Linked DNA regions of Homo sapiens: all the other regions are linked to region 3. The links are contacts of gene promoters, found by promoter capture Hi-C in human tissues and cell types (Jung and others, 2019). All regions are on one chromosome and are shown on one strand. The core of a region is centred on a gene start or on the middle of the fragment in contact, and the rest is flanking DNA. Distances in the headings are between cores, read along the strand shown. Region 1 overlaps FUT3 (fucosyltransferase 3 (Lewis blood group)). Region 2 holds the start of RANBP3 (RAN binding protein 3). Region 3 holds the start of CAPS (calcyphosine).

Evidence for each region. The method cuts DNA at HindIII sites, captures the fragments that hold promoters and counts their contacts. A contact is called where the count stands out against the background at its distance.
Region 1: a contact is called between a fragment that was not itself captured here and the fragment with the promoter of CAPS in region 3, in 2 of the 25 tissues and cell types used here (H1 embryonic stem cells and IMR-90 fibroblasts).
Region 2: the fragment with the promoter of RANBP3 here is called in contact with the fragment with the promoter of CAPS in region 3 in 3 of the 25 tissues and cell types used here (adrenal gland, dorsolateral prefrontal cortex and mesenchymal stem cells).

What each region holds. Positions count from the first base shown.
Region 1 is chr19:5,853,500-5,856,911 of GRCh38, forward strand. All of the region lies in intron 1 of FUT3 (fucosyltransferase 3 (Lewis blood group)), which reads right to left. It overlaps LOC101928844 (a long non-coding RNA gene), which reads left to right. Exons shown (of 4, transcript NR_110740.1): 3 at 1,072-1,163. Among named protein-coding and RNA genes, the nearest start is that of FUT3, 1.9 kb to the right of the region's middle. RefSeq lists a silencer at 1,616-2,003. The HindIII fragment of the contact is 5,809 bases long and covers 1-3,412 here.
Region 2 is chr19:5,976,236-5,979,697 of GRCh38, forward strand. RANBP3 (RAN binding protein 3) reads right to left here and starts at 1,905. Exons shown (of 17, transcript NM_007322.3): 1 at 1,826-1,905. The coding sequence starts at 1,847. It overlaps RANBP3-DT (RANBP3 divergent transcript), which reads left to right and starts at 2,168. Exons shown (of 4, transcript NR_046376.1): 1 at 2,168-2,279. RefSeq lists silencers at 1,689-1,798, 2,029-2,198, 2,249-2,298. The HindIII fragment of the contact is 11,015 bases long and covers 1-3,462 here.
Region 3 is chr19:5,912,831-5,916,474 of GRCh38, forward strand. It overlaps CAPS (calcyphosine), which reads left to right and starts at 1,424. Exons shown (of 5, transcript NM_004058.5): 1 at 1,424-1,479; 2 at 1,555-1,659; 3 at 1,733-1,910; 4 at 2,110-2,316; 5 at 2,391-3,381. The coding sequence starts at 1,577. The coding sequence ends at 2,492. It overlaps RANBP3 (RAN binding protein 3), which reads right to left. Exons shown (of 17, transcript NM_007322.3): 17 at 3,309-3,644. The HindIII fragment of the contact is 10,666 bases long and covers 1-3,644 here.

The DNA.
Region 1 (3,412 bases), core at 255-2,754, 59 kb before region 3:
ATCTCCTGACCTTGTGATCCGCCCACCTTGGCCTCCCAAAGTGCTGGGATTACAGGTGTGAGCCGCCATGCCCGGCCGCGTCCAGGCATTCTTTTACACACTGGTCCCTCCCTAGTCTCTGCTCCCAATGCGACTCGTCCCAAATCTTTCTTCTTTCTCTCCTGTCTGTTCCTTCAGTCTGCACCCCAAGCTCTGAGTCCTTTGAATCCTCCTTTTCTACGAACCCATCTGACCTCTCCCCTCCTCCCCAGGCTGCTCCTTGCCAGGCAGAGCCAGGTCCCAATTCTTCCTCAACCTCCGCTCCCCCACCCTATAATCCTTCTATCACCTCCCCTCCTCACACCCGGTCTGGCTTACAGTTTCGTTCCGTGACACAGCCCTCCCCCACCTGCCCAACAATTTCCTCTTAGAGAGGTGGCTGGAGCTGAAGGCATAGGCAAGGTTAATGCTCCTTTTTCTTTAGCTGACCTCTCTCAAATCAGTTAGCATTTAGGCTCTTTTCCATCAAATATAAAAACCCGGCCCAGTTCATGGCCCATTTGGCAACAACCCTGAGATGCTTTACCACCCTAGACCCAGAGGGACCAGAAGACCGTCTTATTCTCAATATGCAGTTTATCACTCAATCCGCTCCTAACATTAGAAAAAACTCCAAAAATTAGATTCCAGCCCTCGAACCCCACAACAGGACTTAATTAACCTTGCCTTCAAGGTATACAATAATAAAAAAGATACAGCCAAGTGGCAACGTATTTCTGAGTTGTAATTACTTGCCTCCGCTGAGAGAGAAACGCCAGCCACATCTCCAGAACATGAGAACTTCAAAACGCCTAAACCACATCTGCCAGGCATTCCTCCAGGACCTCCTGCCCCAGGATCTTGCTTCAAGTGCCGGAAATCTGGCCACTGGGCCAAGGAATGCCCGCAGCCTGGGATTCCTCCTAAGCCGTGTCCCATCTGTGCAGGACCCCACTGGAAATCAGACCGTCCAACTAGCCTGGCAGCCACTCCCAGAGCCCCTGGAACTCTGGCCCCAGGCTCTCTGACTGACTCCTTTTCAGATCTTCTCAGCTTAGCGGCTGAAGACTGATGCTGCCTGGTCGCCTCGGAAGCCCCCTGGACCATCATGGACGCCGAGCTTCGGGTAACTCTCACAGTGGAGGGTAAGGCCATCCCCTGTTTAATTGATATGGGAGCTACCCATCCACATTACCTTTCTTTTTTTTTTGAGACAGAGTCTCTCTCTGTCACCCAGGCTGGAGTGCAACGGAGCAATCTCGGCTCACTGCAACCTCCACCTCCCGGGTTCAAGGGATTCTCCTGCCTCAGCCTCTCGAGTAGCTGGGATTACAGATGCCCGCCACCACACCCGGCTAATTTTTGTATTTTTAGTAGAGATGGGGTTTCACCTTGTTGGCCAGGCTGGTCTCGAACTCCTGACCTCAGGTGATCTGCCCGCCTCGGCCTCCCAAAGTGCTGGGATTACAGGCGTGAGATACCACACCCAGCCCACATTACCTTTCTTTCAAGGGCCTGTTTCCCTTGCCCCCATAACTGTTGTGGGTATTGACAGCCAAGATTCAAAACCCCTTAAAACTCCCCCACTCTGGTGCCAACTTGGACAACATTCATTTATGCACTCTTTCTTAGTTATCCCCACCTGCCCAGTTCTGTTATTAGGCCGAGACATTTTAACCAAATTGTCTTCTTCCCTGACCATTCCTGGACTATAGCCACATCTCATTGCCGCCCTTCTTCCCAAACCAAAGCGTCCTTCGTGTCTTCCTCTTGTATCCCTCCCACCTTCACCCACAGGGAGGGGACACCCCTACTCCCTCCCCGGCAACCAATCACACGCCCGTTACTATCCCATTAAAACCTAATCACCCTTACCCCGCTCAATGCCAGTATCCCATCCCACAACAGGCTTTAAGGGAACTAAAGCCTATTATCCCTCGCCTGCTACAGCATGGGCTTCTAAAGCCTATAAACTCTCCTTACAATTCCCCCATTTTACCTGTCCAAAAACTGGTCAAGTCTTACAGGTTAGTTCAGGATCTGCACCTTATCAACAAAATTGTTTTTCCTATCCACCCTGTGGGGACCAACCCGTACACTCTTTTGTCCTCAATACCTTCCTACACAACTCACTATTCAGTTCTTGATCTTAAAGATGCTTTTTTCACCATTCCCCTGCACCCCTCATCCCAGCCTCTTTTTGCTTTTACCTGGGCTGACCCTGACACCCATCAGTCCCAGCAGCTTACCTGGGCTGTACTGCCACAAGGCTTCAGAGACAGCCCTCATTACTTCAGCCAAGCTCTTTCTCATGATTTACTTTCTTTCCACCCCTTTGCTTCTCACCTTATTCAATATTTTGATGACCTTCTACTTTATAGCCCCTCCTGCAAATCTTCCCAACAGGACACCCTCCTGCTCCTCCAACATCTATTCTTAAAGGGATATTGCGTATCCCCCTCCAAAGCCCTGATTTCTTCCTCATCCGTTACCTACCTCAGCATAATTCTTCATGAAAACACACGTGTTCTCCCTGCCGATCATGTCCGGCTGATCTCTCAAACCCCAACCCCTCCTACAAAGCAAAAACTCTTTCCTTCCTGGGCATGGTTGGGTACTTTTGCCTTTGGATACCTGGTTTTGCCATCCTAACAAAACCATTATATAAACTCACAAAGGGAAATCTAGCTGATCCCATAGATCCTAAATCCTTTCCCCACTCCTCTTTCCGTTCCTTGAAAACAGCTATAGAGACTGCTCCCACACTAGCTCTCCCTGACTTAGCCCAACCCTTTTTCCTTACACACAGCCGAAGTGCTGGGCTGTGTGGTCAGAATTCTTATACAAGAGCCAAGACTGTGCCCTGCAGCCTTTCTATCCAAACGACCTGACCTTACTGTTTTAGGCTGGCCCTCATGTCTACATGTGGCAGCAGCCACCACTTTAATACTTCTGGAAGCCCTCAAAATCACAGGCCAGGCTCCACTTGCCCTCTACAGTTCTCACAACCTTCAAGCGTTAATATCCTCCTCACACCTTTCACACCTACTGTCTGCCCCTCGACTCCTCCAGCTCTGTTCACTGTTTACTGAAACCCCAACAGTAACTATTGCCTATGGGCCCGATTTCAACCCAGCTTCTCACTTAACACCCAACACAAGTCCTGAACCACATGACTGTGTTTCCCTAATACACATAGCATCTTCCCCCTTTCCTCAGATTTCTATTCTTCCAATTCCAAACCCAGGCCACACTTGGTTTATCGATGGCAGTGCTTCTAAACCCAATCAATTTTCACCAGCTAAAGCTGGATATGATGTCTTGTCCCACACCTTTATTATCGAAGCTGCTGCACTTCCTCCCTCCACCACTTCCCAACAAGCCAAACTAATTG
Region 2 (3,462 bases), core at 655-3,154, 64 kb after region 3:
TTGTTTTGGAAACGCTCTAGACTTACCTATGACACATCCAAATGGAGATGTCGAAATGTGATGCTGGACATGAGTCCTGAGTTCAAGAAGCTATGTGGGCTCAGGATGTAAATACATAAAATATGTCATACTGATTCCCACTTACCCAGTCCCTCTGTAACTAGATCTCATGAGTTGGAATGCTGCAACCCTCCATGGGCTCCTTTATCTTAAAAAAAGAGATGTAGCAGCCGGGTGCGGTGGCTCACGCCTGTAATCCCAGCACTTTGGGAGGCCGAGGCGGGCAGATCACGAGGTCAGGAGATGGAGACCATCCTGGCCAACATGGTGAAACCCCGTCTGTACTAAAAACACAAAAATTAGCTGGGTGTGGTGGTGCGCGCCTGTAATCCCAGCTACTCGGGAGGCTGAGGCAGGAGAATCACCTGAACCCGGGAGGCGGAGATTGCAGTGAGCCGAGATGGCGCCACTGCACTCCAGCCTGGCTACAGAGCTAGACTCCGTCCCAAAAAATAAAATAGAATAAAATGGCCAAGAATCAGGGAGAGAACCTGTGCTGCTGCCTGTACAGATGCCCAGCGCCCGCCCAACACCACACAGAATCAGAATCTGCAGGGACTGAGCACCCGTGGTCTGGCATCTGAAGCCAGGCCATCTTGGTTCACATCCCTGCTCCTTCCCAGCTGTGTGACACGCCTTGGATAAGCGACTTAACCACGTTGACTCAGTCTCCTCATCAAGTGAATGGGGCTAACAGTATCTATACCTCCTACCAGGGAAAACAGTATGTCAAGACTTTGCACCACACCTGGTAACTACCCTAAATGCTCCACAAGACCAAGCACTTCCTATCATCATTCATTCATTACTGCAATTCGGTAGGGAAAACCCTCCAGTCACAGGGAGCACCGAATGGGGGAATCAGAGCCAGACAGGTAGAGAGCTTGCCTGCATTTGTGCAACTAGAAAAGGGGGGGAGCTAAAAATAGGCCTCAGAAGTCTTGAAGCTACAGCGATGGCAACACGACTATGGATGGAAGCAGACATCAGCCTTATGGTGCCTTCTCGGGGGATCTGGAAGTGTAACCTTGTCAAAAACACTCAGGTGGGCTGTCAGCGCTCCACAGAGGAGGGACTCGCACGGTCTCTTGTCTGGAAGTGCAGCAAAAAGGGCCAAAGAGCAGCCAGGGTTTTCGGCGGCCCAGATCCTGCGGCGGGGCCTAAATGAGGGGGAGACGAAGCGCCCCGAAGGATCCGGGGGGAACTGGCGGGAAGTGGGGGCCGAAGTTCGGGGCGGGGACGGGGTGAAAACGGCCTGGGCTTCCTCCGTCCGCGGTGTGCGGCTGGCCCGCGGAGGACGAGGGCCTCACGGGCTTAGGAGATAGGCAGCCAGGCCGGGGAAGGGGAGATGCCGGGTGGCGGAGGACGAGGGGGCGGGGAGGGAGCGTGGCGCGCTCCGGGCCACAACCAGGCCCTAAGGTCTATTTACATCCGTGGCCGAAGCACTGGGGCCGCGCCTCCCGCCCCCTTCAGCCCCGAGCTTGGCTGCGACGCAGAGGGGCCTTAGGGCTGCGATCCCGATGGCCACCCGGCTCCTCTAGCCAGACGGCTGCAGTGGCTGGGGTTGCCGGGAGTGATGGGCCGGGCCGGTGAGCCCGGCCTGAGGGGACGCAATAGGGGGCGGCTGCAAGGCCCGCCACGGCGCTAGCCTGGAGCGGACGAAACCCTTGCACTCTGCGGTGCTCCCCCCAAGGGCTTGTGGCCCCTAGTCCTCCCGCCGCCCGTTCCCCGGCCGCCAGCCGGTCCCCAACGGCGCCTCCCCTACCTTCGTTCGCCAGGTCCGCCATTTTACTTCCTTAAGCCCTCCCACAAGGCCCCGCGCCGGCCCAGGCTCGCCTGCTTTCTGCCAGAAACTCCCGCGCGTGCGCACTTAACAAGCCGACTCCGTGTGAGGCGGCCAGCTCGCGCCTGCGCGCTGAATGCCGCGCGGAGGCGAGCCCCGGATCGCCTGCCCTGCAGAGCAGCCTGCCCTGACGAGCCGCGCTCCTAGCACGCACCTGCGCACGAGCCATCTCCCGCCTCCTTTTCCCGCCGACTGAGAGGGCGGGGAAAGGGCCGGGAAGGGCGCATGCGCAGTGGCAGCGACTAAGGTTTAGTGAGGCGGCACCGCGCGGCCCGAGGCGGGTCTTGAAGCACTCGTTTTCCCACTCGTTTTCCGGGGTTCCCCCGCGGTGGGACAGTGAGCAGTTCAGGGCGCCGCAGCCGAGGCCTTCCTCCAGGTAAATCGCCGGGCCTGCGGGGGCTTCCCACACGCGCGGGCGGGAGACGCGTTGCCTCCTACCTCAGTTTACCCGCCTTAGGAGCCGGTACCTTCGGCAAACGCTTTCCTGAAACCACGGGGGAAGTGGCGAGAGGGCGCGGGGTGCTTGGGATTGGGGGGTAAATCAGAGCTCATCGGCGGGGGCGGGGGTCGTGGTCAGGCTCTAGGAGGGGGCGCAGCCCTGGGACCCAGGTGCTGGCGTTGGGGGCGGGGGGAGCCGGCGCGAGGGACTCGACCCCTCGGAGCTACGAGAATCAACTTCACAAGCTCATGGGAGGGGAACCGCGCGCCTCCAGGTTACCCATCTGTAAAATGGGACCATCAGCCTCACTCACAAGGCTCATGGGAGGGTCCTGGACACCCTGGAGTTGTTCTCTACTCACCTGCTATGAATCTCTCAGCAAATCCTTCGGACTTGGCCTTGCCTCCAAAATACAGCCCAGAGCCACCCATTGTCACCCCCAGGCTGTCACCACCCTAGGCCACATCGTCCGTATCTATCTCATGGAAGACTTGGACAGCGGCCTCTCTGCTATCCTTTGCTGCATTCTTTTGAAGCCCCAGGCTTGGTTCTGCACATGGCCGCAGGCTGAGGAGTCTTTGAAAAATATAATCAGCCAGACGCGGTAGCTCACCCCTGGAATCCCAGCACTGCGGGAGGCCAAGGTGGGAGGATCGCTTGAGCTCAGTTCAAAACCAGCCTAGGCAACAGAGCAAGACCCCATCTCTACAAAAACACAAAAATTACCCGGATGTGGTGGTGCAAGCCTGTGGTCCCAGCTACTTGGGAGGCTGAGGCAGGAGGATCACTTGAGCCCAGGAGGTTGAGGCTGCAGTGAGCTGTGACAGTGCCACTGCCACCATCCTAGGGACACAGCAAGAACCTCCCCCATATATATACACATATATACTTTGTTTTTATCTATATATATACACACAGATATATACATACACGTGTGCATATATATGTGTGTGTGTGTATATATATATATATACACATAGACTGAAAATGGAAATATCAAGGCCACTCAGTGCTTCCAGAGGGCTCTCAGCTGAACTTGGAATATCCTAAACCTTGTATTCAGGTTTATGAAGTCCCCTGAACTTGGCTCCCATGCCCTGCTTTGTTCCCCCTTGCTCAT
Region 3 (3,644 bases), core at 174-2,673:
ACTCCTGGGCTCAAGTGATCTTCCTGCCCTGGCTTCCCAAAGTGTTGGGATTACAGGCATGAGCCACCGCGCTCAGGCAAGGCAACTTCTGACAATATAATTGTGCTGTGAGCGAGGTAAAGCCAGGCTTGGAGAAGGCTCCGATTGATGATCCTTGGGTCGGGGCGAACAGTGGGTCCTCAAACAGGGCCCACGTTTCAAGTCCTGGAAAACCCACCTATCTTAGCGGGCAGGTATATCCGATGTCTCCGTTGAAGGCCTTCAGTGAGGTGGCTTCGTCTCTTGAGGTTTATGTCCAGGATCAGGGCTGCTCTTCCACTCGGGGTCACAACCTCTGGCTCACCACCTTGTCAGGAGCCAGCCCACTAAGTCACGTTTCAGGCCTGAAAACCAACAACAAAAGATCCGTAAAGACAGAAATCCTGGGACTGGCTCCTAACAACGGCCAGTGACAAGCTTTGTGGCAGTGAGCAGAGGTGTCCCTCAGGCTCAGCTCAGTCTCTGTGGGTTGCAGGACCTGCCCTTGGAGGTGGGCCTGGGTGGGAGGTCTTAGGGCCCCAGGACCTGGGCCACCTGGGGCTTTTTTTTTTTTTTTCTTTTTGAGATGGAGTCTTGCTCTGTCGCCCAGACTGGAGTGCAGTGGTGCAATCTTGGCTCACTGCAAGCTCCACCTCCTGGGTTCAAGCGATTCTCCTGCCTCAGCTTCCTAAGTAGCTCGGATTACAGGCGCCCACCATCATGCACGGCTAATTTTTGTATTTTTAGTAGAGGCGGGGTTTCACCATGTTGGTCAGGCTGGTCTCAAACTCCTCACCTTGTGATCTGCCCACCTCGGCCTCCCAAAGTGCTGGGATTACAGGCATGAGCCACCGCGCCCAGCCCACCTGGGGCATTTTTGTTGCTGTACAATAGAAACAAGTTCTCTATATGTTCCCCAGGCTGGTCCAAACTCCTGGGCTCAAGTGATCCTCCCACCTAGACCTCCCAAAGTGCTGGGATTTCAGGCATGAGCCGCAGTGGCCGGTCAGAACCTGGGGCCCTTTTGAACTTTGATTCCTCAGCAATTTTGTCAGCCCTGGCTCGGGCTGAGAAGCCCCTGTGAAGCCAGAGAGGGAAAGGGACCTGTCCAGGGTCACACAGGAATCATGCGTCAAGCCTCCCCAGCCACGGACTTGTCTCCATCCAGGGCATTTCAGCCCCTGCAGGGCAGTGGCCTGCCCCTCCTCCTTGGAGCCAGGAAGGGATGCAGTGCCACAGGGATCTGGCTCTGTCCCAGGCCCTGTGGGGCTGGCAGTTGAGTAAGCAGTCAGGCTGGGCGCACCCATCCCTCCCCCACTCCCCACTGCCCAGCACAGTGCATTCATGCAGCTGGGCCCCACCCCATCTCCAGAGGCACCTTCCACTAGCAACAGTCTCCCCAGGCACAACACAGCTAACACAAGGCCCCGCAGGCAGGACTCTGGGACAGACGCAGGCCAGGTGAGCATCTGAACAAGGGGCAGTCGGCCAGGGTGGGCTTGCGGGAGTCCCCACCTTGACCTCTCTCCCTTCCAGCTGCCCAGAGCCCAGACCAAGCATGGACGCCGTGGATGCCACCATGGAGAAACTCCGGGCACAGTGCCTGTCCCGCGGGGCCTCGGGCATCCAGGGCCTGGCCAGGTGAGCTGTCCCCTCTCACCTTCCTGACCCCGGCCCCTGAGACCACTGTTCCAACCGTGTCCCCTGCCTCCAGGTTTTTCCGCCAACTAGACCGGGACGGGAGCAGATCCCTGGACGCTGATGAGTTCCGGCAGGGTCTGGCCAAACTCGGGCTGGTGCTGGACCAGGCGGAGGCAGAGGGTGTGTGCAGGAAGTGGGACCGCAATGGCAGCGGGACGCTGGATCTGGAGGAGTTCCTTCGGGCGCTGCGGGTGAGCCCCCACCTCACAGTCAAGGCGTGTGCCCTGGGCATGGGGCGACAGAGGATGCTGAGATGCGGAGACGGGGACTCCTCCCTAAGAGCTGCTGTTAAGAGGCGCCTGCTGGGGCATACAGCCCCAGTGCTCTGCACAGCGTCTTGGGGGTTTGGGTGTGCTACCCACCACCCCCAGTCACCACCTCCTGTCCCAGCCCCCCATGTCCCAGGCCCGGGAGGCTGTCATCGCAGCTGCATTTGCCAAGCTGGACCGCAGTGGGGACGGCGTCGTGACGGTGGACGACCTCCGCGGGGTGTACAGTGGCCGTGCCCACCCCAAGGTGCGCAGTGGGGAGTGGACCGAGGACGAGGTGCTGCGCCGCTTCCTGGACAACTTCGACTCCTCTGAGAAGGACGGGCAGGTGGGTGGCTGCGCGGGGGGCCCCCTCCCCAGGCAGTTCCTCGGCCGTGCCCCCTCACGGCCCTCTGTTCCCAGGTCACACTGGCGGAATTCCAGGACTACTACAGCGGCGTGAGTGCCTCCATGAACACGGATGAGGAGTTCGTGGCCATGATGACCAGTGCCTGGCAGCTGTGAGCAGCTCCGGCTCAGCCCTGCTGCCCTGGCCTGTCACTCCCCACCCCTGCCGGAGACCTCCCTTCCCTGGGCCCCTTCTCTCCTGGGCAGCCACACCACAGAGCGGGGAGGGGCAGGTGGGGGAATGGAGGCTGCAGGACTGGCTAGACCAGGTCCCTGCCGGTCCACCAGGCGGAGGTGGGACAAAGGTCCTAACAGGAGTCACTGGCTCAGGACCCCAGGGAGAAACGCTCTCCCCACCCACGCCATGCTGACCAGAGATCTTGCAGCCCCTGTGGATGCCCCCGCCGAGGTCCCCCGATCCCCGCACCCGGACTGCTGCTCCCTGCCCCTCCCTTGCGGGTCCCCCAGGAAGCCAGGTGACCCCAGGTGGGAGGCTGTGTGTGGAGGCCATCCTGGAAGGAAGTTTAGACCTGCCCAGGTGTGGAGCGAGGGGCACAGGGGCATCCTAACCTCAGAAACTGAAATAAAGCCTTTGAAAAAAAAATCTGTAAAACATCAACCCCCAATCAGAAGATGGCAAATGGGGAATAAAAATAGCAGGTAACATGTCCAGCGGGCCCAGTATCTACATTCTGGTGAGCGGCCCGAGGCTGGGAGCTCTGGGCGGGGGCAGACCGGCGGGGCCTTGCAGCAGGGGTGGGGGTAAAGTGCGGGTGGTGGTGGAGAGAACAGGGCTGTGGCTGGACCCCAGCACTGGTGACACGCTGGGTGGGAGCATGAGGCCCCAGGCTGCTGGAGGTCCTCGCCCGGGGAGGTGGAGGCCGTTCCTGGTCAGGGGCTTCCTGAGGCCCCTGGGGCATGCAGAGGCCAGGGTTTTAGTTAAAAGTTTAATGTAGTTCCCAAATACATTTCATATGACAATCTTACATAAATGTTCCAAAACACATGGGCGTTATCTCGTTGTACTCGTCACTAGCTGGCTAAGGCTTAAAGCAGAGACGTGTGACTGGGTCTCTCGGGAGGGCCTCTGGTTCTTCCCGGGCTCAGGCTTGCTGGGGGCTGGGGGCCAGGGCTCTGGCGACCTAGAGGTGTGGACGGCACAGCTGCAGGAGGCCTTCTCTTAACCCTCCGAGAGTGGGACTGGGAGATTTCCTCTGAAGTCCCAAAGAGGCCCTGTGCCCAGGGGACCTCCTCCTCGGCCTCCCAGGT